Regions from separate parts of the Homo sapiens genome. Here all the other regions are linked to region 1. Evidence: promoter capture Hi-C in 16 types of primary human blood cells and fetal thymus (Javierre and others, 2016). All regions are on one chromosome and are shown on one strand. The core of a region is centred on a gene start or on the middle of the fragment in contact, and the rest is flanking DNA. Distances in the headings are between cores, read along the strand shown.

Region 1 (6,085 bases), core at 1,257-3,756:
AGAAATATTTCATACTTATTTATTTATTTATTTATTTGAGACAGAGTCTTGCTCTGTCGCCAGGTTGGAGTGCAGTGGCGCAATCCCAGCTCACTGCAACCTCCACCTCCCGGGTTCAAGCGATTCTCCTGCCTCAGCCTCTCAAGTAGCTGGGATTACAAGTGCGTGCCACCACGCCCAGCTAATTTTTATTTTTTGTATTTTTAGTAGAGACGGGGTTTCACTGTGTTGGCCAGGATGGTCTCGATCTCCTGACCTCATGATCCGCCTGCCTCGGCCTCCCAAAGTGCTGGGATTACAGGCATAAGCACCATGCCTGGCCCTTATTTTTATTTTTAAAGGATGAAAAAAAAGGAAAGAAGGAAGGGAGGGAGGGGGTGGAGGAAGGAGAGGCAAAAGTTGTCCACTGCATTCTATTAATTCCAAGGCCCAGTTGTTCTTAACCTCCAAATCTGCTTCTTCACTTTTAAAGCCTAGGTGATAGTACGTGTACCTGCCTAGAACATGCTTTGAAAACTAGCAGACTGGAGAGAGAATTTCACTGTCAGGTTCACTACTGGTGGGCGGGACACTACATCATTCCCCTACGGAATCCCTAGGGGGCTCAGCATCCTTTCTGTCTCTTCAATTCAGATAACAGTAATAAGATTTTCCAGCAGGGTTATAATCACACCACCACCACCACCATCTCCAAAAAGCCATAAAACAATAAATTCATTACTGAAGCATCTCAGTGAATGGAGATGAAAACTGTGCAACAGCCCAGCACGGGATAGCTCTCCCAATCTCTGTTAGACAAGCACTGGCTAAAATATAAGAACTGGATCAATCTCCTCACATAAAATCAACTGTCTTACAAACCCAAGGGGGAAAAAAATCACACTTGTTAGGCATCATTAAGAAAAGATTATCAGATTATATACATCAGTAATAAAATTCCGAGCCACAGGGCGAACAGGGACCTGCAGGCTGGGGACAGAGCAGCCAAAATCCAGCCTCCCTGTGATTCCCGACCTCTTCTCCAACTCTGTGCAAAGCCCGAGGAGGTGAGACTCTCTTCGCTAAGGCGAGCTTCGGCTATGTCCTAGTGATGGACAGTTCCTCTCTGCCAGGCCCCTGCAGCCTTGAGACCACATTCCCCAGAGATCCGGCAACGTTTCCCCATCCCAGGCAGCTGGGCATTCTCCTCTCCCGGAAGGAAGACGGAATCCCACCCCGATCATGCGTGAGCTGCGGCGAAGAGAAGCCGCTGGTCCCGAGGCGAGGGGCCTCGAGTCCGCAGATTCCCCTCAACATTTCTGGGAGTAAAGTTGGGCTTAGCTGGGCTCCTGGCAAATAAAGAGGAGCCTGGAAAGACAGCCATGCTCAGGCCCCCGTGAGGCCACTTCGGACCCCTCCACGCTGTGCTGGGCTGCATCTGCCTTAATTCCCCGTCTGTTGCTTCTCCAGGCTCTGAGCCCCCTCCACAAAAGGGGGATGCGAAACTCAAAGGAGTTAGGATGTCAACCCTGCAAACCGCAGAAACTAAACCGACACCAACCTGCCCAAGAAGGCAGCGAAGGTGGTTGAGGACGACACCCCACCCCCCACCCCCCACCAGGCAGGGGTCGCGGGAGATGGCGGGCGCCTTTCTGGTGGCTCCACGTCCTCCTTACTCCCGAAGTCCCGGCGGCCCCGAGTCTGCCCCAACTCCAGCATCCGTTCTCCCCGAGCTGCGGCGGGGAAAACAAGGTAGGGGGCAGGGGCAGGCCCAGAGGGGTCTCGCCCCCGCCCTTGGGCCGGCCGAGGGGCTCCCTGGAGTCAGAGGAGGAACAATAGCGGACCCCGCGTCCTGGGAGCCACCCGGAGTCTCCCGCTCGCACCTCCCTCCCCACCTCCTCCAAGTTCAGCCGGGAGGCGGATTGGGCTCAGCAGCACCGACGCGGGGGCAGCGAGGCGCCGCGCGGGGCGAAACAGGTGGGACCCGGCGCAGACTCCAGGGTGCATCTCCGGGTCTGCTCATTCATTCCCACCCGCGCTCCCTCCGCCGCGGCCCCTGCCCCGCGCCCCGCCCCAGCCGGCCTGCGAGTCGCGGAGGACCCGGGAAGAACCCTTCTCCTAACTTGGCCGGGTCTTCCCGCTCTACCCTCATCTCCACCTTCCTCTCCTTCCTCTTGTCCCCAGATCTGCTCTCCGCAGACAGTGGGCTGCCGGCGGTGGACCAGGGAGAGGTGGCGGGACCCCGGCTGCAGCCCGCTCAGCCGCTCCGCCCGGGCGCCGTCCCCAGCGCCTCCCGCGCCCGAGCTCCAGACACAAAGGCGGGGACACGAGCCCGGGACCCCGCGCCGGGAGCCTCCCAACTCCGTGCCGCGCACTCACCCCATCGAGGCGGCGGCGGCGCTCCCCGGACCCAGCTGGCTGCTCCACCCCGCCCGCCGCTTCCCCAGGAAAACGCGGCCGCCGGGCTCGCTTCCTGCTCGGCTTCCTGCGCCGCAGTCCCTCCTCCTCCCCCGCTGCGGGGGTCAGTGGGCGCCGAGCTCCCGGGCTAGGCCGGCGGGGCGGGGGCAGCGGCAGCACCACCACGTGGCCGCCGGGCGCCGGCCCCCGCCGACCTGGATCCAGTGGGAGCGGGAAGGGAGGCGCTAACCATTCCCCTCCCATTCCACCCCTCGCGGCCCCAAATTCCGCGAGTCAGGTGACCCGGCCCCGGGCTCTGGCCGGGACCTGCGGGGGGTGCTCTCCGCCCTCCAGCCCCCGGCGCATCTCCCCGGCCCGCGCGTCCCGGCTGTTCGTGGCTTGCTTTTAGTCTCCAGGGATCGTGGGACCCTTCTCCGCGGATCTGTTTCATCCTCTTAACCTGAAGTTAGTGGAAGCCCCCCACGCTCTGACCCCTGGGTTTAGGACGGATGAGATCCCAGATACTGTTTATTTCTGATTAACTTCCAAAGTCGTTTGTGGTAGTGGCGAGTGTTTCAAAGTCACGGATCCAAGCCCCTTCTGACCAGAATCTAAAAGGTTGTTTTCCAAAATCATTGAACAGAAAGTAAAGTAGAATGTGCTCACGTTCTCCGGACTGAACCAATTGGTTGAAGTGACTGTTTTCTAGCACTCATTGGGTGGCAAGGCAAGACTACCACCGTTCAGTGTTGTTCTGCTCAGGAGTTAGAAAGGAGAAACCTACAGCCTGAACTGACAGGCGAGATTGCGCATGGGAACGCCTTCAAAATAGTGTGTGAGAAGCCACGGGGTACAGGCTCACTGCCCCAGGTCCCCGACAGCTTCTCTCCCTATCCCAGCCCACTAAGGCCCGACCTTTCAATTACGATGGACTCCACCATTAATTCCAAGGATTTCAAAGCTCTCTATCTACCCACTCATCTAATTTGGGCTGGCTTTTCCATGCATTCTAGTCATGCTAACCAGCTGTGACTTCAGTTCTGTTCACCTAAGCTCCTCCCTTCTCCTCGTTAGCTCTGCCTCCTTTGCTCAGGGAAGAAAGCTTTCTAGAATAAATAACGTATTGAGTTCTTTCTGGGATCTACTGTAAGTCAATTGAACTTAAGAGGGAAAAAAGGTCGATTCCAACAAAATTGAAATTCACCCTAACAGCTCAGTTTATAACGTGTCAGCTACATACTAATATTTATATGGCAGATATTACCTGTTCCCTCCCCCCGCCCCATCCCCCTTTCCTTCCTCCCTCTCCCTACTAGGGAAGAGCCTATCTCCCCTTTAACAGTTGAACTTGACAAACAAGCATCAAAAGCCTTGTAACTAGGTGCAGGGTCTTCACTTCCTACAGCAAAAGTTCCTTAGCCAAGTGAGGAACAGCTAAAGCAAGATGTACACTCCTCTTCCTGTCCTTTATCCCTCTCAAACAAAGTCACACTGTAAAAGAAACATGAACTGACCAACATTCTTTTGGTTTAATGCTGGCAATTTCTACAATAGTGTTTCATCGTGATTCTTGTTAATGACATATTGTAGGGTATTTAAGGGGAACATTACTGCCTGTGAGTTTTCTGCTCTATTTTTGCAGGTCAGTCTGGTTCAAGTAGGGGCAGCTGGGAGGATGGGATTTGGAGCATGGTACAGGTAGATGATGCTGTCTTGGAAATTTGACATGTGTGTATTCTGTAGGAACAGTTGACATTTTGAAGGAGTTAAAATATTAGACAACATTAAACAATGATTGTCTAAGGCAGGCACATCTGACTTTGATTCACAGAGGTCCTGTCCCTCTTCTTTTTTCTCTGTCCCAGCCACCTCCAAAGAGCCTACCAGCCTATCACCTCTTAGATTCCCATAGGTGGTTTGTATATGATTCTCCTTAGTTTACACTCCCACCCTCTAAAGTCAGCAAGTCTAACTCTGGATGAGGGATCGTTGTGAAAGTATTCTTATTTTTTTGGGCTGTGCCAAGATCCTTTTCCAGATCCCCACTTTTGAAACTCAAAGCAACTTTGTAGTCTGTAGACTGAGCATGGCAGCTAAGTTCTGCCAACTGCAGGGGGATTAGTGGGGAAGTAAGAGGTTCAATAGCATCTTCTTATTGGTTGTGTTGCCCAGGCGTTTTAGAAATGCTAATTGGGTTCATTGGATACATTGAATACCACCCTTTGATGAGAACTAGGCCCAGGTGAAAGGGGTTGAGTTAAAGAAGCAAAAATAAAATGACCAGCTAACCTGTGTAAAGTAGTAAAACCTTTTGGGAGGAGCAGTATGTTGCATTCCTTTATCCAAATATCAAGGTAACAGCAGTGTAATATGTAGTGCCATGAGCACCAAGAGCAAGGAGACTGGGTTTCCTGACCCATTTCTTTTGCTTACTTGCCATTTGACCTTCACCAAGGGTTTTAACTTCCCCTGTTCCCCCTTTCCTCATTAGTAGAAGGGAACATCAAAGTACATGACCTCCAAGATCTTTCTTTTCTTTTGTTTTCTTTTTTCTCTCTTTCCTTCTTTTCCTTTTTTTCCTTCCTTCCTTCCTTCCTTCCTTTCTCTCTCTCTCTCTGTCTTCTTTCTATCTTTGTCTCACTTTGGTGCCCAGGCAGGAGTGCAGTGGCACAATCATGGCTCACTGCAGCCTCAACCTCCAAGCTGAAGCTTTCCTCCCACCTCAGCCCCCAGGTCCCACCTCACTAGCTGGGACTACAGGTGTGGGCCACCACACCCGGTAATTTTTTTTTTTTTTTTTTTTTTGTACTTTTGGTAGAGACAGGGTTACGCCATGTTGCCCAGACTGGTCTCGAACTCCTGGGCTCAAGCGATCTGCCTGCCTCGGCCTCCCAAAGTGCTGGGATTACAGGCATGTGCCACCATACCCGATCTTTTTCAGTTCTGACATCCTAAACCTATTCTCTTAGTTTGTAGACCCTTCATAAGCAAAACTGCCCTGTCATTTCATGACGAAACATTGTTTTCTGATCACACTAGCAGGTCAGTCTTGTCAAAGCAATACAATTGTAAACTCCAAAGAGTGTTGCCATCCAGGACATCACAAATGAAATTCATTGATTGAGTGGGCTCAATTTTTATTCTTGAGATTAAATGATATCATCCCTTTTTCCTTGCTCATCCTTCATCAATACTGGTTCTTCTTAGATTATGAGTATCTTGATTGCCCAAGTCTGAGGAACCAAAGCTAAGACTTGTTGGGATAACAAGAAACTGCCCCTGCAGGAGGAAGGAGAGATAGATATCACACCACAGCCAAAAAGTCATTCTCCACTTTATTTGGTGTTTGGTCAGGAGCTGACTGTACTTCTGGGTCTAGTTAGAGGCAGCATGATTTAGAGGAATGTGGAGATATTGGACCCAGTCCAGAGAATAGAATAAAAATGCAATAACACAATCAGAAGGTTGGAGGGAGATAATCTACCAGAAAAAGTCCAAATATTCATAGAAAAAACACTTTTTGTATTTTCCTGGGGATGTTTCCAAATAGAAGAAAACTGTAACATGGGAAAATTAATAAAATAACCTTGGCATTCCTTTTCATAATTAGTAAGACCATAGTAATGAAGTAGCCTGCAAAACACTAATTGGCTCATGGTTTTTCCACTTGCCAGGGAGTCAGCAGAGATTTCTCCAAGGGTAAGAGGCT
Region 2 (6,085 bases), core at 1,198-3,697, 100 kb after region 1:
AGTGCTTTAAATGTTTAGGTTTTAGATTTGAGTTATCCTTCAATCAAACCAATGTGATGTCCAACCTGTACCAGCCTTTAGGGGTTTGCTTTTAGATCCAGAGCCAATAGACTCCCAAGAAGGGAGCTAACGTGTCTTAGTCTACTTGGTGACTGCCCCATGCCTAAGATGTCATCATTTGGGAATCACAGGTTTGGGAGTAAGATAGTGCTTCTTAAAATGGTGTTAAGGGGAAACTTTTCGTGAGGGTGGGGGGATGATTATGGTAGTCCCTGCTTATCTGCAACGGATACATTCCAAGACCCCCAGTGAATCCCTGAAACCGCAGATAGTACCGAACCCTATGTATATTATGCTGTTCTTATATGTACATACCTACGATAAAGTTTAATTTATAAACTAGGCACAGTAAGAGATTAATAAAATCATAATGAAATAGAACAATTATAATAATATGTGAATGCAGTCTCTCTTTCTCTAAATGTCTTATTGTACTGTGCTTACTTATTTTTCCATGGGGGTTGACTGCCAGTGACTGAAAGGGAAACCGTCGGTTAGAGGGGACCACTGTACCAGGAAAGAGTCTTCAACAGTGCACATACATTTTTTTTAGCTGTTCTATGAAGTTAAACAGGTTTTCTTTTCTCTGGGACTTCCCAGAGTCATTAGCAGGCTAACCTGGCCCATCCATAAAGGAAGATTTAGTTTGCAGTGTTTCTCAGAATTATTTGACCAGGGAACCCATTAAAACCTTTTGCATCGAGGAACACATTTTAGAGTTCCCACTGAGGTGAAACGCAGGCTTTATCAACAAGGCTTTGCATTTGTTATTTTTATTAGCTTATTGGATAATTTCTAAAGTAATAGCAAGGTGAGCATGCTAACTCATGGTATGAGCATAGATAGATAATGCTGGATTGAAAAATAGTTTGAGTGATGGGAGAGAATTGTGGAGGAAAGAAAAGGCACCAGGAGCTTTGGTTTATTAACACAATTTTATTTAATCTTCTCAACAACTTTCTGAAGATAACAGTATTACCACGGTGTTTTTGATAGGGAACCGGAGGCTGAGAGAGGTTGTATTCATTGCCAGTGGTTACACAGTTTGTCAGTGGTGGAGCTGGGATCTGAATTCAGGTCAGCCTGTTCCAAAGTCCAATCTCCTTCCAGAGTAAGATTCATTCCTTCAAGAAGGGGGAAGTGAAAAGGTGAAGAAGACAAGATTTGCTTACCTTACAATTATGCAGGAATGATTGTGGCGAAGCAGCTGTGTGGTCACTGAGGAACACAGTCACCGTTTAGAAAATATGGGTGTCCGTGCCCCTCCTGGGGAAAAAAAAATCTTCTCACTCAGGTGTGTACATTTTAAACTCACAGAAAGCTGAAAGGAATCTAGGAGGAGTTGGGCTCCATAAAAATCACTACCTTTGTGGTTAAAGATTTATTAAGTGATCACAGCATGCTGGGCATATAAATAGACCTGACCCTTGCCCTTAGGGAACCCAGAATAAATACACAAAATTTACAGTCATAGTGTTTGATGTCAGACTAAATGTTTTAGGACCATACATGTTCCAGGATCCTACTCAGTAGGGTTAAAAAACATGGCTTGGGAGGAAGTTGGGAATGAAGGAAGTCATCCAAGCTTTGCAGCCACATCTACCTGGGCTTCTCTACTGTCGCTAGCTTTGCAAGTTAGGGCAAGTTACTTAACTGCTCTGACTCTCAGCTTCCTCTTCCACCAAATAGAAGTGATAATACTTGCCTCACAGGATTAATGTGAAGTGCAAATTACTGTGTGCAAAATGCCAGGCACGTAGTTGGTGATAAACAAATGATAACTATGGCTATTAAAATCTCCAAGGATAGGCCAGGTGTGATAGCTCATGCGTGTAATCTCAGCACCTTGGCGGGTGGATTACTTGAGGTCAGGCAGATTACTTGAGACTAGCCTGGCCGACGTGGTGAAACTCTGTCTCTACAAACAATACAAAAACTAGCCGGGTTTGGTGGTGTGTGCCTGTAGTCCCAGCTACCTGGGAGGCTGAGGCAGGAGAATCTCTTGAACCTGGCAGGCGGAGGTTGCAGTGAGCTGAGGTCATGCCACTGCACTCCAGCCTGGGCAACACAGCGAGTCTCCATCTCAAAAAAAACAAAAACAAAAACAAAAAAACTCTGCAAGGATAACATCCAAGCTCTGTTCCCTGGTACGAAAGGCTGTCTATGATTTAGCATCTACTTGCCTTCCTAGCCTTTGTCCTGCCCCCTCCACTAACTGGCCACTGTGACACAGGCATTCATTTCTTGATGCCTGTCAAAGTCTTCCCCTTCCTTTAAGGTTTCAAGGTTTGGAGCAGTGGTTCTCAAAGTAGGTCTATTGACCCCTGGGGGACCCCAAGATTCTTTCACGATATCCTGATGTCAGAATTATTTTCATAATAATACTAAGATGCTGTCTGCCTTTTTCACTGTGTTAACATTTGCACTGATGGTGCAAATGCAATAGTGGGTAATAGTCAAACAGCCACCACCACTCACTCATAGAAAAAACAAAGCCAGTGTCACATAAGAGTGTTGTTAATGAAATAAAAAATCAGTAACTGTATTAAACCTTGACCTTAAAGTATGCACATTTTAAAATATTTTGCGTGATGGAATGGGAGACACGCATCAAGCACTTTGGTTGCATACTGATATTCACTGGTTGTCTAGAGGAACAGCATTTGTGCCATTGAACTGTGAGCTGAACTGCTCCTTTTTTCATAGAACGGCATTTTTATCTGAAAGAACAACTGATGGACAAACAATGGTTATTCAGACTTGCATATTCGGCTAATATTTTTTTTTCAGAAATGAACCGTGTCCATTACTTCAGGAAAACCAGCTGACGGTATTTGTTGCCAAAAATAAAATTGGGGCTTTCCAGCAAAAACAAGAATTTTGGGAAACTTGTATCCACTACTGTGAGCTTGACAGCTTACAAATAATTAAAGCCTTTTTTGGATGAACTCCATGATAATATTAACAAACGTGATTTTTAAAATATTGATTAATAAAATGTGCCAACATTTTGAAGATCAAAATTTTCCAAATGACCAGTGCATTGTGTTACAAAATTATGCAGGTAAAAGAGCCACTCAAAGTCCATGTAGACCAATGGGTTTTATTATAACAGAGGATAAATGTTCATTGATGTGGTTTCAGGCTTCACATTGCCACTAATCTTTAAGAATTACTAATGAAGCTTCGATGTTGCCATGGTTTGGGTGTTTCTGTTCCCCAAAATTCATATTTTGAAACCAAAATGTATTTTTTATATTTTCTATTTTGTTTGTTTGTTTGTTTTTGAGACGGGAGGCTCACTCTGTCATCCAGGCTGGAGTGCAGTGGCACTATCACGACTCATTACAGCCTCAACCTTTCCAGGCTCAGGTGGTCCTCCCATCTCAGTTTTTGTATTTTTAGTAGAGATAGGGTTTCGCCATGTTGCCCAGGCTGGTCTTGAACTCCTGGGCTCAAGCAATCCACCTGCCTCGGCCTCCCAAAGTGCTAAGATTACAGGCATGAGGCACCATCCCACCAGCTTTCCCAAGCCTCCAGCTTGCAGATGGTAGATCATGGAATTTATAAGCCTCCATCATTGAATGAGGCAATTCCTCACAATAAATCTCTTTCTACATATCTGTTTATATCCTATTAGTTTTGTTTCTCTGGAGAACCTTGACTAATACAAATATTCTTGAAATGAAACAATAGCTCATTTATTTGGAATAGGTTCCTAGAAATAGGATTACTGGACCAACAGGAATTACAAAATGCAGTTTGATTAATTTAAATATATGCAACTTGAAGGATGCTATGTTTGTATTATGGCCAATGCCATATGTCTGCATTGTCACATGGAAAGTCTGAGGCCAAATAGAGCTTTCCATTTTGTAGAGTCAGCTTCTGACACATTTTGCAGAAAGATAAAGGTTTGCTTTCTGCATCGTTCTGCCCAAATCTCTCTGCCGCCCACACTACCACATTACTATCTCTTATACTTAGGTGCTGAGAGATATCTGCTGTAGACTTGGGTCTGAGGGGATGTATTTGTCAGAGATCTTAGCACAAGCCGCTGAAACCAAGCCTGGCCAATTTAAGCAGTAAGAAGTGTATTAAAATATTAGGTCATTAACTAAATTTCCAGGAGCTCCAGAGAGCTAGGACTGGAGCCCATGTGGCCAGGATAAACCTCCCATATCACAGCAGAACCATTCCTAAGAAGACTCCGCTGCTTGCACCACCTTGCTGTGACTGTCTCTGGAGGTCACCATCACCTCTGCCTCCATTGCAGTAGGGTAGATGCCAGTGGACCCTGAAGCTCCTGAGTCACTCTCCAGTACAGATGCTCTGGTTAGGCATCTTGTAGGTGTCTTAATTCAAGTTGCAAAGGAGGCTAAAAAAGCAAGAGTCTGTCACTGGAAGTGGCTCATGCTTCCCACCAAGACATCAAAAGGGGCTGCCCATAATATTGAAGAATGGCTCAGATGCTGAGCTGCCAAAAATGAATGACAAATGCTTACCATAGACAGTAACAATGACAGTCAAGCCGCTGGAAGCCTAGTGTCTATTCTAGGAGGCGGGAGACAGATGGGCCTTTCTGTTCACTACAGTGGAGGAACCAGGTCTGATTCATCATCGTTTTCTAGTTCTGAGGAGAAGGTAGGTGTGCAGTAAGTTTTTCCTGGGTGAATGAATGGTTAGACACTGCTGATGAAGAGGGATGCTGTCCTTTATGCAGGGTGCTGATGCTCTCCATGCCATTCTGTTTCATGGATGCTGTCACTGGGAGTAGGATATCACGTGTCAGGCTGAAGACACCCACTGTCACATGGTCTTCACCGGCCTCCATTTTGGGGAGAAGGGAATTGTTTAAGCCACACTGGCTCTGTTTTCTCAATCTCCAAAAAGGGTACTGAGGACTGGTTTTTAAGTGTATTCTCTTGTAAGATGAAAAACAATAATTTCCACATTAAGAAAAAAATCCAATGAGACTGAAAATTCAGGACACCTGGTGGAAACTTGAAGCTTTTTACAAGAGCCACTATTCAGGCCCAAAAGGGTCACACAGGAAAGCATATGCCATTCTGGATTTTTGTTTCTGGATATTTTATTGTTTTGCTCTCTTACACCACTCCAGCACTGCACACTCTTTAAAAATAAAATAATTTTTAAGAGAGCTGGTTGTGTACGTTTATAGATAGGAGAGAGGAGTTTGGATAAGTAGCCAATTCTGACTGATTTTGATTTCCTAAGTCTGATTTCCATAATTAGAAAAGGGGAACGCAGTCACAGATGATGTCATCTGTTGGAACCACTGAAGAATGAAGACAGTTGGGTTGCTGCCTTTGTTCATTCTGGCTTTTGCCAAGTGTGGAAGTGGAACAGCAGCTTGGGATCATGGTTGGCAAGGCACCTGAATGTCAGAGCTTGTTTTGCAGGACCTTGAAGGCAATTCCTTTTAAAGGCACCAGGTCTCTATCCTATTTTGTGTCAGTTTTTTTTCCCTCCTTCCTAAATAGATCATTTCTAGCTGTAGATATCACAAATGCAATTTACACTTCATTCAGACATCTGAGACACCGTATGCTAACTAACAACAGAAGTTGGAGTAAAAAAAGCAGGGAAGTGAAAAACACAAGCCTTCTTTGGCTCACCAGTACACCCACTAAATCTCATCCAGCAAAACTGTTTTACATTGAGACCAGCTTGCCTAATGGTGATGCGTCTCCAATCCCATATGGATTTGACGTTTTCTTGCAGTGTGCTTTTCCCTCACTATGCAGATACTAACTGATCTGCCTCCTCCCAGATTTTTTCAAGTAATTGGTTGCTTGCTGTCTGCAAACCCAGACACTTTTGAGGTATAACATGAACCACCCTCTTAACCAGTGTTTTCGTGTTTGAGTTGCTGCCACTGATGCTGCTCCTGGGAGCCAGCCGACGGGTCAAGTCCCTTTCGGCTGATGAAGATGTGGATGCTCAGAGCTCGGAGTTAAAATCCAACAAGTGGCCGGGCGCGGCCGGAAGCGGTGGCTCACAC
Region 3 (6,085 bases), core at 2,242-4,741, 98 kb before region 1:
AGTGTTTCAGCTTACGCGGTCTTGCCCTCACTGTCGTGTTTGGTGGCACTGGCCCCCTTCTTGCCGAGCAGTGAGGCCACCTTCTCCGCATCTCCATTCTCCACGGCCTGCAGTAGCCGGTCATCATTCTTGTTCCACTCATTGGTCTGTAGAGAAAGAGAAGAAACAGAGGTCATGAACAACACTGGCCACAGCCGCACTGACCAGCAGGGCTGCAGTCCTCGCAGCCCCCACCCTCCTGTCACTCAAATTAAAGCCTGCTCCCGAATGAGTGTGTTTTAAAATACCTTCCCCTTCACCATGGAGACACCCAAGAAGGCCGCTTTCCCAAAAGAAAACATAAATAGTGCAATGAAATCACGGCTAGTCACCAAACTCTGAGATAAAATTTACTTCTTTTAACTAACACTAGGAATATGAAGCAACGTAAAAAGACCTCAAGGCCAGTTTACACATTAGCTAATTTCTCGCTGAACTAGACAGCTGCTCCTCAGCACGTTGGCCTTTGACCTCATCCACAGCTCACTCTGTCCACCGTGTTACAGAACCAAACCAGCAGCTCAAGGTTACCCGAGGTTTACAGACACATAATTTTTCATCTGCTTTTATTGCCTCTCTTTCTGGTCTGTTTACCAGGCCCTGAATTTTGAGCTGGATACTGATTTTAAGTAGTTGTCCAGGCTACCGACTCAACAAAGTCTCACCAGAAACAAAACTTCTTCCTGAGCAAGCTCTTAAACGTCAAAGAGCTTTGAGCAAAGCCTCAATCACTGTCAATGCCAAACCCCAACTGAATAATTCTGCAAACCACAGTAACAGTAAGGCACTCGTATGTGCAAAACTGATTTCTACACTTAGGAGGGAAAGAGACGATTTCTATATAAGAGCAGATGGGCTCTGAATATAAGACTAAGAAAGACATGAAAGGCAGCAGTGAGCCACTGAAGGTTTGGGAGCAGAGGAGGGAGAGAATTATAGAACCAGTGACTGAAGAGTCATTGGGAGGTGTTGAAGCACGTGGGATTAATGAGGGAAAGAGGGGAGGAAGGAAAGATGTTGAGCATATCAGAGGCTCTGGGCACTTTGCAAGCCCGGGCTGCCTTCCAGTCGTCTCCTGCGCCCGGCCCCTGAGCTAAGCCCACTTTCTGGCCCCTTCGGCTGTGGACACCACACCCTGGGAGAGACTCCTTTTCCCTTCCCAAAGCTTTCTATAGACTCTGCTTCCTTGCAGCCTCTGAAGGGATGAACCTCCAGGTATTTCGTATTAACAGCTTTACGATCGACCCTTAAAAGGAAGCAGACAGAGGAGATATTGTAGATTTAAAAACTAAAAAGAAGAAATTTTACAGGATGACAGTCTTCCACGGCCCCGGGAGTATGTTCCCAATCTCTGTACTGATGGAAATGAGGAAACCCAACAAGTCTTTGTCCATCAGATGTCTCAGTCACCCTCCCAACCCTAGCCCATATGTAGGGCCTTAAGCCAGGGAGGGATAAAAGAGATGTGTTCAGAATTTGCATCTCTGAACGTCTCAGGACTGAACCATTCCCAGTTTTTAGGACTCTGTCCTCCCCCACCAACACTGAGTGCAGGTGCACAGTAGGAATGAAGCAGGTTTGAACAAAAATCAGCAGCTTGTTCTCTGGGCTGCGTGAACTTGAAGTCCAGAACTCCAGACTGACACTTACATGTTGTGTGACCTGAAGTCACCCATAATCTTTCTGTGCCTCAGTTTCCCCAGGCTTTGGACTGGATGTCCACTGTGATTCCACCAAAGCTCAAAATTCTTATTATATAAAATTCCCCAAACTCTGCTAGGGATTACTCTAGAACAGGACTGTCTGCCGTCATGGAAATGTTCTTTATCTGGGCTTTCAAATACTATAGCCACAAAGCCAGTGATTCTTAACCAGGATTTGTTTTGCCCCTGTGGGGTCATTTGGCAATCTCTGGAAACATTTTGGTTGTTATGTCTATAGAGTGCTACTGGCATTGAGTAGGTAGAGACCAGGTGTGCTGCTGAAAGTCCTACAATGCACAAATGCATGAGACAGTCCTCCTACCCCCACCAAGAATAATCTGGCCCAAAATGTCAATACTGCATGAGCCACTTGTGGCTACTGAGCACTGGAAATGTGGCTAGTGCTACTGAAGAAGTGAATTTTTAACCTCGAGACTTCACGTGACGTTAGCCAGAGGCCACCATGTAGACCAGTGCAGCTCTCCTTGATGACTCTCCTCATAGGTTTAACAAAGTAAGAATGTGTCTGGACCAACATCAGCCACGCTCCTACTACAGCAATTTACTCACAAAGAAATGAGATTTTTGTCTTTAGTTACCAATCAAGCTTCCTGTTGAAGGGAAACATAAGAAATATGGCGTTCCTCACACCATCATTTGTTAGTAGAATAGAAAGCGTAACTTAACAACTGTACAAACAACTACAGCAAATGATCAAGCCCCAAGAAACACAGTGCAGCTTATTCCCCCAGAGTGCACTTTACAAGCAAAGAAAAAAGGGAAGAACATTTAGGACCAATGATCCCTACCTATAGAATCCTAAAAGAGAAAAGTATTGTTTTTCCAAATCCTTTTCTAACCTAAACTGAACAAATTAAAACTGGACTGGGAAGATCAAAAGGATATGATCAAATCTCAGAGGACAGGACTGAAAGTATTCAAGCAAAGGAACGGCCGCATGAAAGGATTTTCCTTTTCAACGTTGCTAAGGCACTCTACTCTTAGGTAGAGAAAAATCTGATTGCAGGGGTTCCCTAAAATTCGTTCCACATGGATCTTTAAGGGAGTTCAGTTTCTATAAGACATGGCAGGAGAGATCTTCCCTATCCTGCTCTTTGGAAGACAAGGTCAATGCAACATTCCTAGTGGTCTGAAATGCCTCTCTTCTATCTAGAGCCTCTTTTCAGTGCAGGCCAGAATTTACTTTTCTCTTGGAGCAGATGAAGAGAACATGGCTACACAAGCAAATCTTCAATAAATAATCCACAACACCATTCAAGAAGTGCTGCAGATGGGGTTCACAGTAAGCAGAGCTAGGTTGGGAAAAGAGGAGGGAAGGTAAGAGCCTGGGCGTGGTAGCTCATAACTGTAATCCCAGCTACTGGGGAGGCCAAAGCAGAAGGATTGCTTGAGTTCGAGACCACTCTGGGCAACACAGTGAGACGCCATCTCTAAAAATAAAAAATTTTAAGAAGAGTTTTGCTCTTAAAATTCTCACAAGCATGCTAAAACTAGAGGCCAAGTAGGGTCCCAATTAGACGTCTGATCCAGGAATCTGGATTCTGATCAAATAGCAGAGTTGTCTAGTCCTGGGCCAGGCCACTAATCATACTTGCAATTAGCTCTGATATGCACAACTGGCCATATCATGCTCCTTCCAGAAGCACAGTGATAAAGAGGCCATCAGTTTTCCTTCCTAAACTTGCCCACGGAGATATTTCCTACATCCTCTCATCCTCTCCTATAAAACTATTCTATCCAGTGCCATACTCTTTTTTTTTTCTTTCTTTTGAGATGGAGTCTCACCTTGTTGCCCAGCCTGGAGTGCAGTGGCACGATCTTGGCTCACTGCAACCTCTGCCTCCTGGGTTCAAGCGACTCTCCTGCCCCAGCCTCCTGGGTAGCTGGGATTACAGGCATCTGCCACCATGCCTGGCTAATTTTTTTTTTTTTTTTTTTGAGATAGAGTCTCGCTCTGTCACCAGGCTGGAGTGCAGTGGTGCAATCTCAGCTCACTGCAACCTCCGCTTCCTGGGTTCAAGCGATTTTCCTGCCTCAGCCTCCCGAGTAGCTGGGACTACAGGCACATGCCACCACGCCCAGCTAATTTTTGTATTTTTAGTAGAGGTGGGGTTTCACCATGTTAGCCAGGATGGTCTTGAGCGCTTGACCTCGTGATCTGCCCACCGTGGCCTCCCAAAGTGCTGGGATTATAGGTGTGACTCACAATACCTGGCCCAATTTTTGTATTTTCAGTAGAGATGGGGTTTCACCACATTGGCCAGGCTGGTCTTGAACTCCTGACCTCAAGTGATCCTCCCACCTTGGCCTCCCAAAGTGCTGGGATTACAGGCGTGTGAGCCACCGTGCCTGGCTCCAGTGCCATTTTCTATACCAAAATTCCCATAGCCAATCACAACATGAGACAAAACAGATGTTCAATAAGCACTTTGAGTCATTCTTTGGAATCCAGAAGCAAATCCTCTCCCCTACCCCCACCCCCAAGCATCAAAAAAAATCTCAAAAAGTCACTTTGGTCAATCTACTGTCCAAAAGTAGAGCTGGTCAAATAAATAGGTAAAGTTTGAAATTTTATCATAACATCCCAAAGTAATTCATTCATACTCTAGAATCAAAGAAGGCTTTTGGAGACCACCATCAAACTAACAAAATTACCTCTCACCACTTTCCATGAAAATCCTCTCCTCTAACTAGCATGCCCTCCATAGGACAGGACTGATTCTGCCTCCACCCTGGGCTTCTGGTCCTCTTATAGTTTTCAACTCTATGAAAGCTGTATAGTTTATCGGTTAACCTCACATGTTAAAAAAATAAAATAGAAAACATCAGATGTACCACCTTTAATAAAGTTAAATGTCTTATGAAGCTTTTATTTATTACATGTATGTGTATCCTGACTGATATAAAATACATTTCTGGACTGGGCACGGTGGCTCGTGCCTGTGATCCCAGCTACTTGGGATTCTGAGGCAGGAGAATCGTTTGAACCCGGGAGGTGGAGGTTGCAGTGAACCGAGATTGCACCACCGCACTCCAACCTGGGCGACAACCCAAGACCTTGTCTCAAAAAAAAAGAAAAGATACATATATATATATATATACACACACACACACACACACACACACACACACACACACACACACACATATATGTAAGAAATATAGATATTTCTTACTGGAGGATCACAAGAAAAAACACTGGCAGCCACTGCTTCAGAATGCTCTGTCACCCCATCTGCCTAAGCAAAGGCGTATTTCGAAAGCCTAGCTCAAGCCCCGCGGGCCCTCTCCACCCTTTCCTGGTGGCCTCTCTCTGTTTCTCTACTCCATTGCGTCCCTGGGGGCCATCCACTCGCTCATCTCAACCGAAGCCCACAGTCTAGACTTGATGAAATATCGCATCCTGGTTTTTGTTCGAGAGCTTACGGTTTTTCTCCTGTGTTTAGCTCCCTGAAGGCCCTGAGAACAGTCTTCATTTCTTACCCCCATGGTGCTCAGTATTTGCTGCTGATTTTAGCAGGAGGTTGATTGGCCTAAATCACTCTCGACTTAGCAAATATTTGTTTTTTCATTTACAAAAGTTTCATTCTTTTGCAAACAACTATTAAATCGTGTTTCAGGTTTTTTTATAGGCTAAATAAATCCAACTCCCTTAACTTTTTTAAAAGGCCAATTTTCCAAGATTTTAATCATGCAAATACTTTCTTCAAATCTCTTCCCAACTAAGGAGCCCAGCCTTATAAATTCAATCAGGGTGAACGCGATGTCTCCCAGTCACAAGAATCACCTGGGTGCTTGTTAAATCTGCAGACTCCCAAGCCCCATCTAGCAGACTCTGACCCCAGGAGTCTGGGGTGGAGCCCTGGAATCACTTAGGTTCAACGAGTGCATCCTTTGATTTTTATTGCTAACTTGAGGACAACTGGAACCTATGTTAAGACTAACAGGAGAATTCACTTGAAAGAATTTTCTTCTTCCACAAGGCATTAAGGAAGCAGGCCTGTGAAGAGAAGAATTCTTCACTATTTTCTTGTAGAACTAGGTATTTTGTTTCCCATAAAAGCTGAGTAAATATTGGTCTTTCCCCAACCTGTGTATAAGACATGCATTAGAATGTCAACGAAAGCATCGCTCATAACAGGCAAGAATTACAAATAACCCAAATTTCCAATAACAAACGACGGATAAATTATCACGTCGTCAAGCAACAGAATAACACACAGCAATGAAAATGAACAAACTACAACTAGGTACAACAGCACAGATGGGTATTAAAAACAGTACTGTTGAAAGAAGCAAGACACACACAAGAAAACCCACAA
Region 4 (6,085 bases), core at 2,018-4,517, 65 kb before region 1:
CACCAAGGCAATGCATCAGAGTCTCTGAGAATCAACTCCTGATCCTTGAAGCAGCATCCTTTTTTCCTATTTGAACTTCAGTTCTGTCCTTGAATGCTGACAGAGAGCTGTTTCTTGCTCTCTGTTCTCAGAATTCTCATGGCTTGGATTTCTCGGTCCACTTGCCAGTTTTATCACTTTACTCTTATTCTCCATGGCTTCCTGTCACGCCATGGGGAGTTAGGGGAAAGTGTTCACTGATAGCCCACATATGATTTGTGGGTTACAATTTATTAGATTCTAGTTTTGCCCAAATACCGGGCATACTTTAATAACCAAAACATTTCATTATCTGGATAGAAATGGGTATCTTATCAAGCAGATTTAAAGGATATGGATCTGTCCTCTAGAAAGGAACAACTAGGCCGGGTGTGGTGGCTCACACCTGTAATCCCAGCACTTTGGGAGGCTGAGGCAGGTGGATCACTTGAGGTCAGGAGTTCAAGACCAGCTTGGCCAACATGGTGAAAGCCCGACTCTACTAAAATACAAAAATTAGCTGGATGTGGTAGTGCATGCCTGTAATCCCAGCTACTCAGGAGGCTGAGGCAGGAGAATCTCTTGAATCCAGGAGGCAGAGTTTGCAGTGAGCCGAGATTGCGCCACCGCACTCCAGCCTGGGCAACAGAGTGAAAACTCCGTCTCAAAAATAAATAAATAAAAGGAGTTAGTGTATAAAATACTGCTTTATGCCATAATAAAGATAATAATAATACTTAAGGCAAAAAGTCACACCAAGGCAAAAAAGCATAGACCAAGCAATTTCCTAGCATGAGTATTGAAATTTTGAAGCATATGTAAATACCAGTCCACAGCCTATATCACACGTAATGCTTATATCATCAACAGAAATTTATGGGTGATGAGTATATTAAAACTAAATATATGGTCAACTCACTCATGTATTAAAACAAAAGGTTGATTCAAATAATTAAGTGATGTTATACATGTAAAAACACATTGTTAACATTTAACATTTAGCTTTCCTTAAATCAGGTGAAATTTCACTATTCTTATATAACGTAGGCCCAGACTACCACTTCCTCATCTCCACTATGCGACGGTTAATGTTATGTGTCAAGGTGGCTAAACTACGGTGCAGTTATTTGGTCAAACACCAGTCTAGATATTGCTGTGAATGTACTTTTTAGATATGATTAACACTTAAATCGGTAAACTTTGAGTAAAGAGGAGCACCTTCCATAATGTACGTGGGCTTCATCCGAATAGTTGAAGACCAAAAGACTTAGATCTCACACAAAAAAGGTATTCTGTCTCCAAACTGCATTTTGACTTGAAATACCAACTCTTCTTTGAAGTCTCCAGCCTGTCAGGCTGCCCTACAGATTCCGATTCTGCCAGCCCACAATCACATGAGCCAATTCCTTAGAATCAATCAATCTCCTTTTTTTTTCTCTCTATAGATAAATAAACATCCTATATACACATCTATATATAGGTATATAGATAAACATCCTATTGGTTGTGTTTCTCTGGAGAACTCTAATATATACCCTCACCATCACTCCACAGTGGATCCATAAAATAAGATGAAGTGGGTTTTTTTTTTTTTTTTTTTGAGACAGGGTCTCACTCTGTCGCCCAGGCTGGAGTGCAGTGGTGCAATCTTGGCTCACTGCAACCTCTGCCTCCCAGTTTCAAGCGATTCTCCTGCCTCAGCCTCCTGAGTAGCTGCAATTATAAGTGCATACCACCATGCCTGGCTAATTTTTGTATTTTTTTTAATTTATTTATACATTTTTGTATTTTTAGTAGAAACGGGGTTTCACCATGTTGGTCAGGCTGGTCTCAAATTCCTGACCTCCAGTGATCTGCCCACCTCAGCCTCCCAAAGTGCTGGGATTCCCAAAGTGGCGCAATCTTGGCTCACTGCAACCTCCACCTCCCTGGTTCAAGTGATTCTCCTGCCTCAGCCCCCCAAGTAGCTGGAATTACAAGAGCACAACACCACACCCAGCTAATTTTTGAATTTTTAGTAGAGACGGGGTTTCACCATGCTGGCCAGGCTGGTACCGAACTCCTGACCTCCAATGATCTGCCCGCCTCAGCCTCCCAAAGTGCTGGGATTACAGGCATGAGCCATCACGCCTGGCAGAGATTAAGTTTGTATTTCTCTGCTTGTCACCACATCACACAACAATGCTTTACAAATTTTCACTAAAACCGGAGGGGATGTTAGTCTTCTAGAGCTGCCATTACAAAATCCCACAGACTGGAGGCTGGAAATCCAAGATCAAAGTGTCACCCAGCAGGCTGATGTCTCCTGGGACCTCTTGCCTTGGCTTGCAGACAGCTGCTCACTGTGTCACCACATGGACTTTTCTCTGTGCATGTACATCCCTTGTGTGTGTCTCTTCATGAGTCCAAATTTTCTCCTTGTATAAGGATACTAGTCATACTAGATTAGGGCCCACCCTAAAGGCCTCATGTTAACTTTATGTCCAAATACAGTGACAGTCTGAGGAACTGGGGGTTTGGATTTCAACATATCACTTTGGGGGTGGGCGGGGCCACAACTCAGCTCATAACAAAGGGTCTATCTGAAAAGATCTACATATAGACTACATGGCATACATAAAACTCACTTTCAGGGCGAGACACCAAAAGAACAGCTCTCTTCTAGAGCAGTTAAAAGTGTCCAGCCAAGGCCAGGCACAGTGGCTCACGCCTGTAATAATCCCAGCACTCTGGGAGGCCGAGGTGGGTGGATTACCTGAGGTCAGGAGTTCAAGACCAGCCTGGCCAACATGGTGAAACCCTGGCTCTACTAAAACTACAAAACAGCTGGGCGTGGTGGCACGCACCTGTAAGCCCAGCTACTTGGGAGGCTGAGTCAGGAGAACCGCTTGAACCCAGGAAGCAGAGGCTGCAGTGAGCATAGATTCCATCACTGCATTCCAGCCTGGGTGACAGGGCAAGGCTCCACCTCAAAAAAAAAAGTGTCCGTTCAAGAAAAACACGAACTTATATTTAGAGACCAGTTGGCAGAGAAAATAAGAAATCATTTAAAATAAAAGCCCTAAGTCCAAGCCATAAAGGCAGACACGGAATTGCTGGCATTGATTTGCCACATGAACAATATCTTGTGTATTGCTCAATCTAGAAAGCAGCAGAGGTTTACTTTTTTGAGCCTGGCTAATGATTTTCCCTGCAATCTAGATGGTCATAATACATTTAGTTGCTACATCCCTCTTGAGCTCTGGACTAGGCATGATGTGAGATCCTTGTATTATTTTTAACATATGTACATATTTTACATATCTACATATTTATGTACATAAATATATGTACATATTTTATATGTATGTATACAATATACATACATACACATCTATATATATATATATATATATATATATATATATACACATCTACATCTACATACATACACACACATATCTATATAAACAACATAGTTTTGATCACAAGGCATTCAGAGTCCAGATACCAGAAGCAATATCTATGGACAACAACGGGAGGCCGAAGACCTTACAGAAGACAGGGAAGGAAAAAAAGGCAATGGGAAGAAAGAGACTTAAGAGAGGAGAAGGAAGAAGGGGAAATATAAGAAATAGGGGAAGAGAACCCATGTGGGAAGGCAGGTCTTTGTTCCTCCCCTCTCTGTGGGCTGTCATGGAGTCCCACCTCTGACTAATAATAGCAACAACAACAAAAATTACAGTGCACTCCTGTAATTCCAGCTACTCCGGAGGCTGAGCGCGGAGGATTACTTGAGCCCAGGAGTTTGTGGCCAGCCTGGGCAACATAGTGAGAACTAGCTCTAATAAGTAAAAAAAGTAAAAAATAAAAGCCAGAACTTTACATGTGAATAGCACATGCAGATTTCCAAAAACTTTTCACCTCTGTTATCCCTCACATACTCCAAACAGCCCAGTGAGACCTCATGAAAGCGCTATTACTTTTATTAGTCAAGTAGAAAAAAAAATCTGCCGGGCGCGGTGGCTCACGCCTGTAATCCCAGCACTTTGGGAGGCCGAGGTGGGCAGATCACAAAGTCAGGAGATCGAGACCACCCTGGCTAACACGGTGAAACCCCATCTCTACTAAAAATACAAAAAATTAGCTGGGCGTGGTGGCGGGCGCCTATAGTCCCAGCTACTCGGGAGGCTGAGGCAGGAGAATGGCATGAACCCGGGAGGTGGAGCTTCCAGTGAGCCGAGATTGCGCCACTGCACTCCAGCCTGGGCGACAGAGCGAGACTCCATCTCAAAAAAAAAAAAAAAAAAAAAAAAAAATCTGAGACAGGGTCATAGAATGACTTTCAGAGTCTGGAAGCGATTGAACATTTTATAGACTAACTTGACTCCATATAAATGATAAACAACCCATCATCCTCCCTTAAATTTTTGGTTTACACATAATCAAACTATATGATACATATACATTTTTAAAATTATGTGTCCATTCTTTTTCTGCGAAACTTCTTTTTGGTTTAACACTTTGTGAGCTAATCGTTTGTTTAGCTTTAAGTATATCTCACTTGCAAATAAGCTCTGAGAAGAAATAAATATTTACTGGGGAAAGTAACTGTCATAATATCATAAGGAAGAATTCTCATTCCTAACTAGAGGCCAATTCTTCTCCTTCTAAGGTAGCTTTCCAAACACTACAACTTTTTCTATAATTATTTAAATTTTTTTTTAAATCTTAGGAAGACAATGTAATTGGTGAACTTTTAGTAATGGAGACAAAGTGGGGTACAGGTAATATGGCTCTTGTCCAGAAATAAAATCAGGTTAGGGCTGATTTTAAGACTTTATTTTAAAGAGTTACCACAAAAAATATCTTTGAATTGGAAAGAAAGTCAGCCCTTGGCTTCGCTGGTGCGTCTTACACCTTGATATTACCACCTAGCATATAGCGCAGAGTTCAGTTACTGACATGCCATTGACCAGACATCTAAAAGCCAGCTTTTAGATGAAAACCCAGGCTCCAGTTCAAAGCTAGAAGGTGACACGTGCCCTGGGACAGAGTTCAGATACTATATTTCAGGTCTTTGTGTTAAGGTCTTAGCTTTTAGTCCAGCGTGCAACCACGGTAACTCAGGGAAGAGCAGTGCAAGGACATTCAAGGAGTCCCTTTCTATAAATTTACAAACTGCTCACATACCGTGGCAGAGATTTTCCACAAAGGGTGCGGTAAGATTTCTGTTCCCATATACTCTCCAGAACCACCTTGCATCAAGAGGCATAATCTATTTCTCCTCCCTTTGAATATGAGCGGGATGTTGTGACAATCTCAATGGATGGAAGGTGGCAGAAGCGATGCTGTATGATTTCCAAGGCTAGACCATGACAGGGGATGGATGAGGTTTCCGTTTAGCTCTCTCAGGATGTTTCCTTTTGGAACCCAGCCACCATGCTGTGAGAAAGCCAGGGCCAATGGGGCACCAGCGTTCTGGCCAAAAGCCTCAGTTAAGGTCTTAGGTGACAGCCAGCATTATCCGTCAGATGCTGAGGGAATGAGCCACCAGGTAATTAGCCCCCATCCTTTCAGTCTGCCCAGCTGAAGTTCCACAACACGGATCAGAGACGAGCTGTCCCTGTTGTACCCTGTCCAGAGAATTGGTGAGTGTAATAAAGATTTGTTTTACGCCACTAAAAGTAGTAGTCATTTGTCAAATAGCTCTACTAACTAGAACATACAGTACCGGCTAAATGAATGCTCAGAGGCAGAAAGAATTAACTTATTGATTTTCATCTTGTGCATTACTGGTCTTGAATCTGTCCTGGAGGTGGGGAGAGTAGGCAAGAAGTGGGGAAAAAATTTTAAGTGCCACCTTTCCTGCGCAGGCACTATTCATGGTACAACAAAACTTCAATTCCTCCAAAACCCCTAGGAGGTTAAGTCTTCATAGGAACTGATCTCCATTTTAAAGACGAGGAAGCTGGGGCACAGCAAGGTTTAGTAACTTACCCAAGATCATACAGGATGTGGTAGAGTTGAAATTTGATCCCCTCTCTGCCTGACCCAAAATTCACAATCTTTTGATTCTCCCAGTAGA

The links. The method cuts DNA at HindIII sites, captures the fragments that hold promoters and counts their contacts. A CHiCAGO score of 5 or more calls a contact.
Region 2: a fragment that was not itself captured here is called in contact with the fragment with the promoter of RAI14 in region 1 in 1 of 17 cell types (endothelial precursors); the score reaches 10.7 in endothelial precursors.
Region 3: a contact is called between a fragment that was not itself captured here and the fragment with the promoter of RAI14 in region 1, in 2 of 17 cell types (endothelial precursors and naive B cells). The highest score is 7.4, in endothelial precursors.
Region 4: a contact is called between a fragment that was not itself captured here and the fragment with the promoter of RAI14 in region 1, in 1 of 17 cell types (endothelial precursors). The highest score is 5.0, in endothelial precursors.

What each region holds. Positions count from the first base shown.
Region 1 is chr5:34,652,749-34,658,833 of GRCh38, reverse strand. It overlaps RAI14 (retinoic acid induced 14), which reads right to left and starts at 2,506. Exons shown (of 18, transcript NM_015577.3): 1 at 2,359-2,506. RAI14-DT (RAI14 divergent transcript) reads left to right here and starts at 2,661. Exons shown (of 3, transcript NR_183264.1): 1 at 2,661-2,841; 2 at 6,051-6,085. RefSeq lists a silencer at 2,499-2,548. The HindIII fragment of the contact is 8,769 bases long and covers 1-3,480 here.
Region 2 is chr5:34,551,631-34,557,715 of GRCh38, reverse strand. No RefSeq gene overlaps it. Among named protein-coding and RNA genes, the nearest start is that of RAI14-DT, 100 kb to the left of the region's middle. The HindIII fragment of the contact is 1,599 bases long and covers 1,648-3,246 here.
Region 3 is chr5:34,751,529-34,757,613 of GRCh38, reverse strand. RAI14 (retinoic acid induced 14) reads right to left here. Exons shown (of 18, transcript NM_015577.3): 3 at 16-146. Among named protein-coding and RNA genes, the nearest start is that of TTC23L, 85 kb to the left of the region's middle. The HindIII fragment of the contact is 2,280 bases long and covers 2,352-4,631 here.
Region 4 is chr5:34,718,633-34,724,717 of GRCh38, reverse strand. All of the region lies in intron 2 of RAI14 (retinoic acid induced 14), which reads right to left. LOC124900960 (a long non-coding RNA gene) reads right to left here. Exons shown (of 3, transcript XR_007058730.1): 3 at 3,412-6,085. Among named protein-coding and RNA genes, the nearest start is that of RAI14, 65 kb to the right of the region's middle. RefSeq lists enhancers at 2,322-2,822, 2,823-3,323. The HindIII fragment of the contact is 7,021 bases long and covers 1-6,085 here.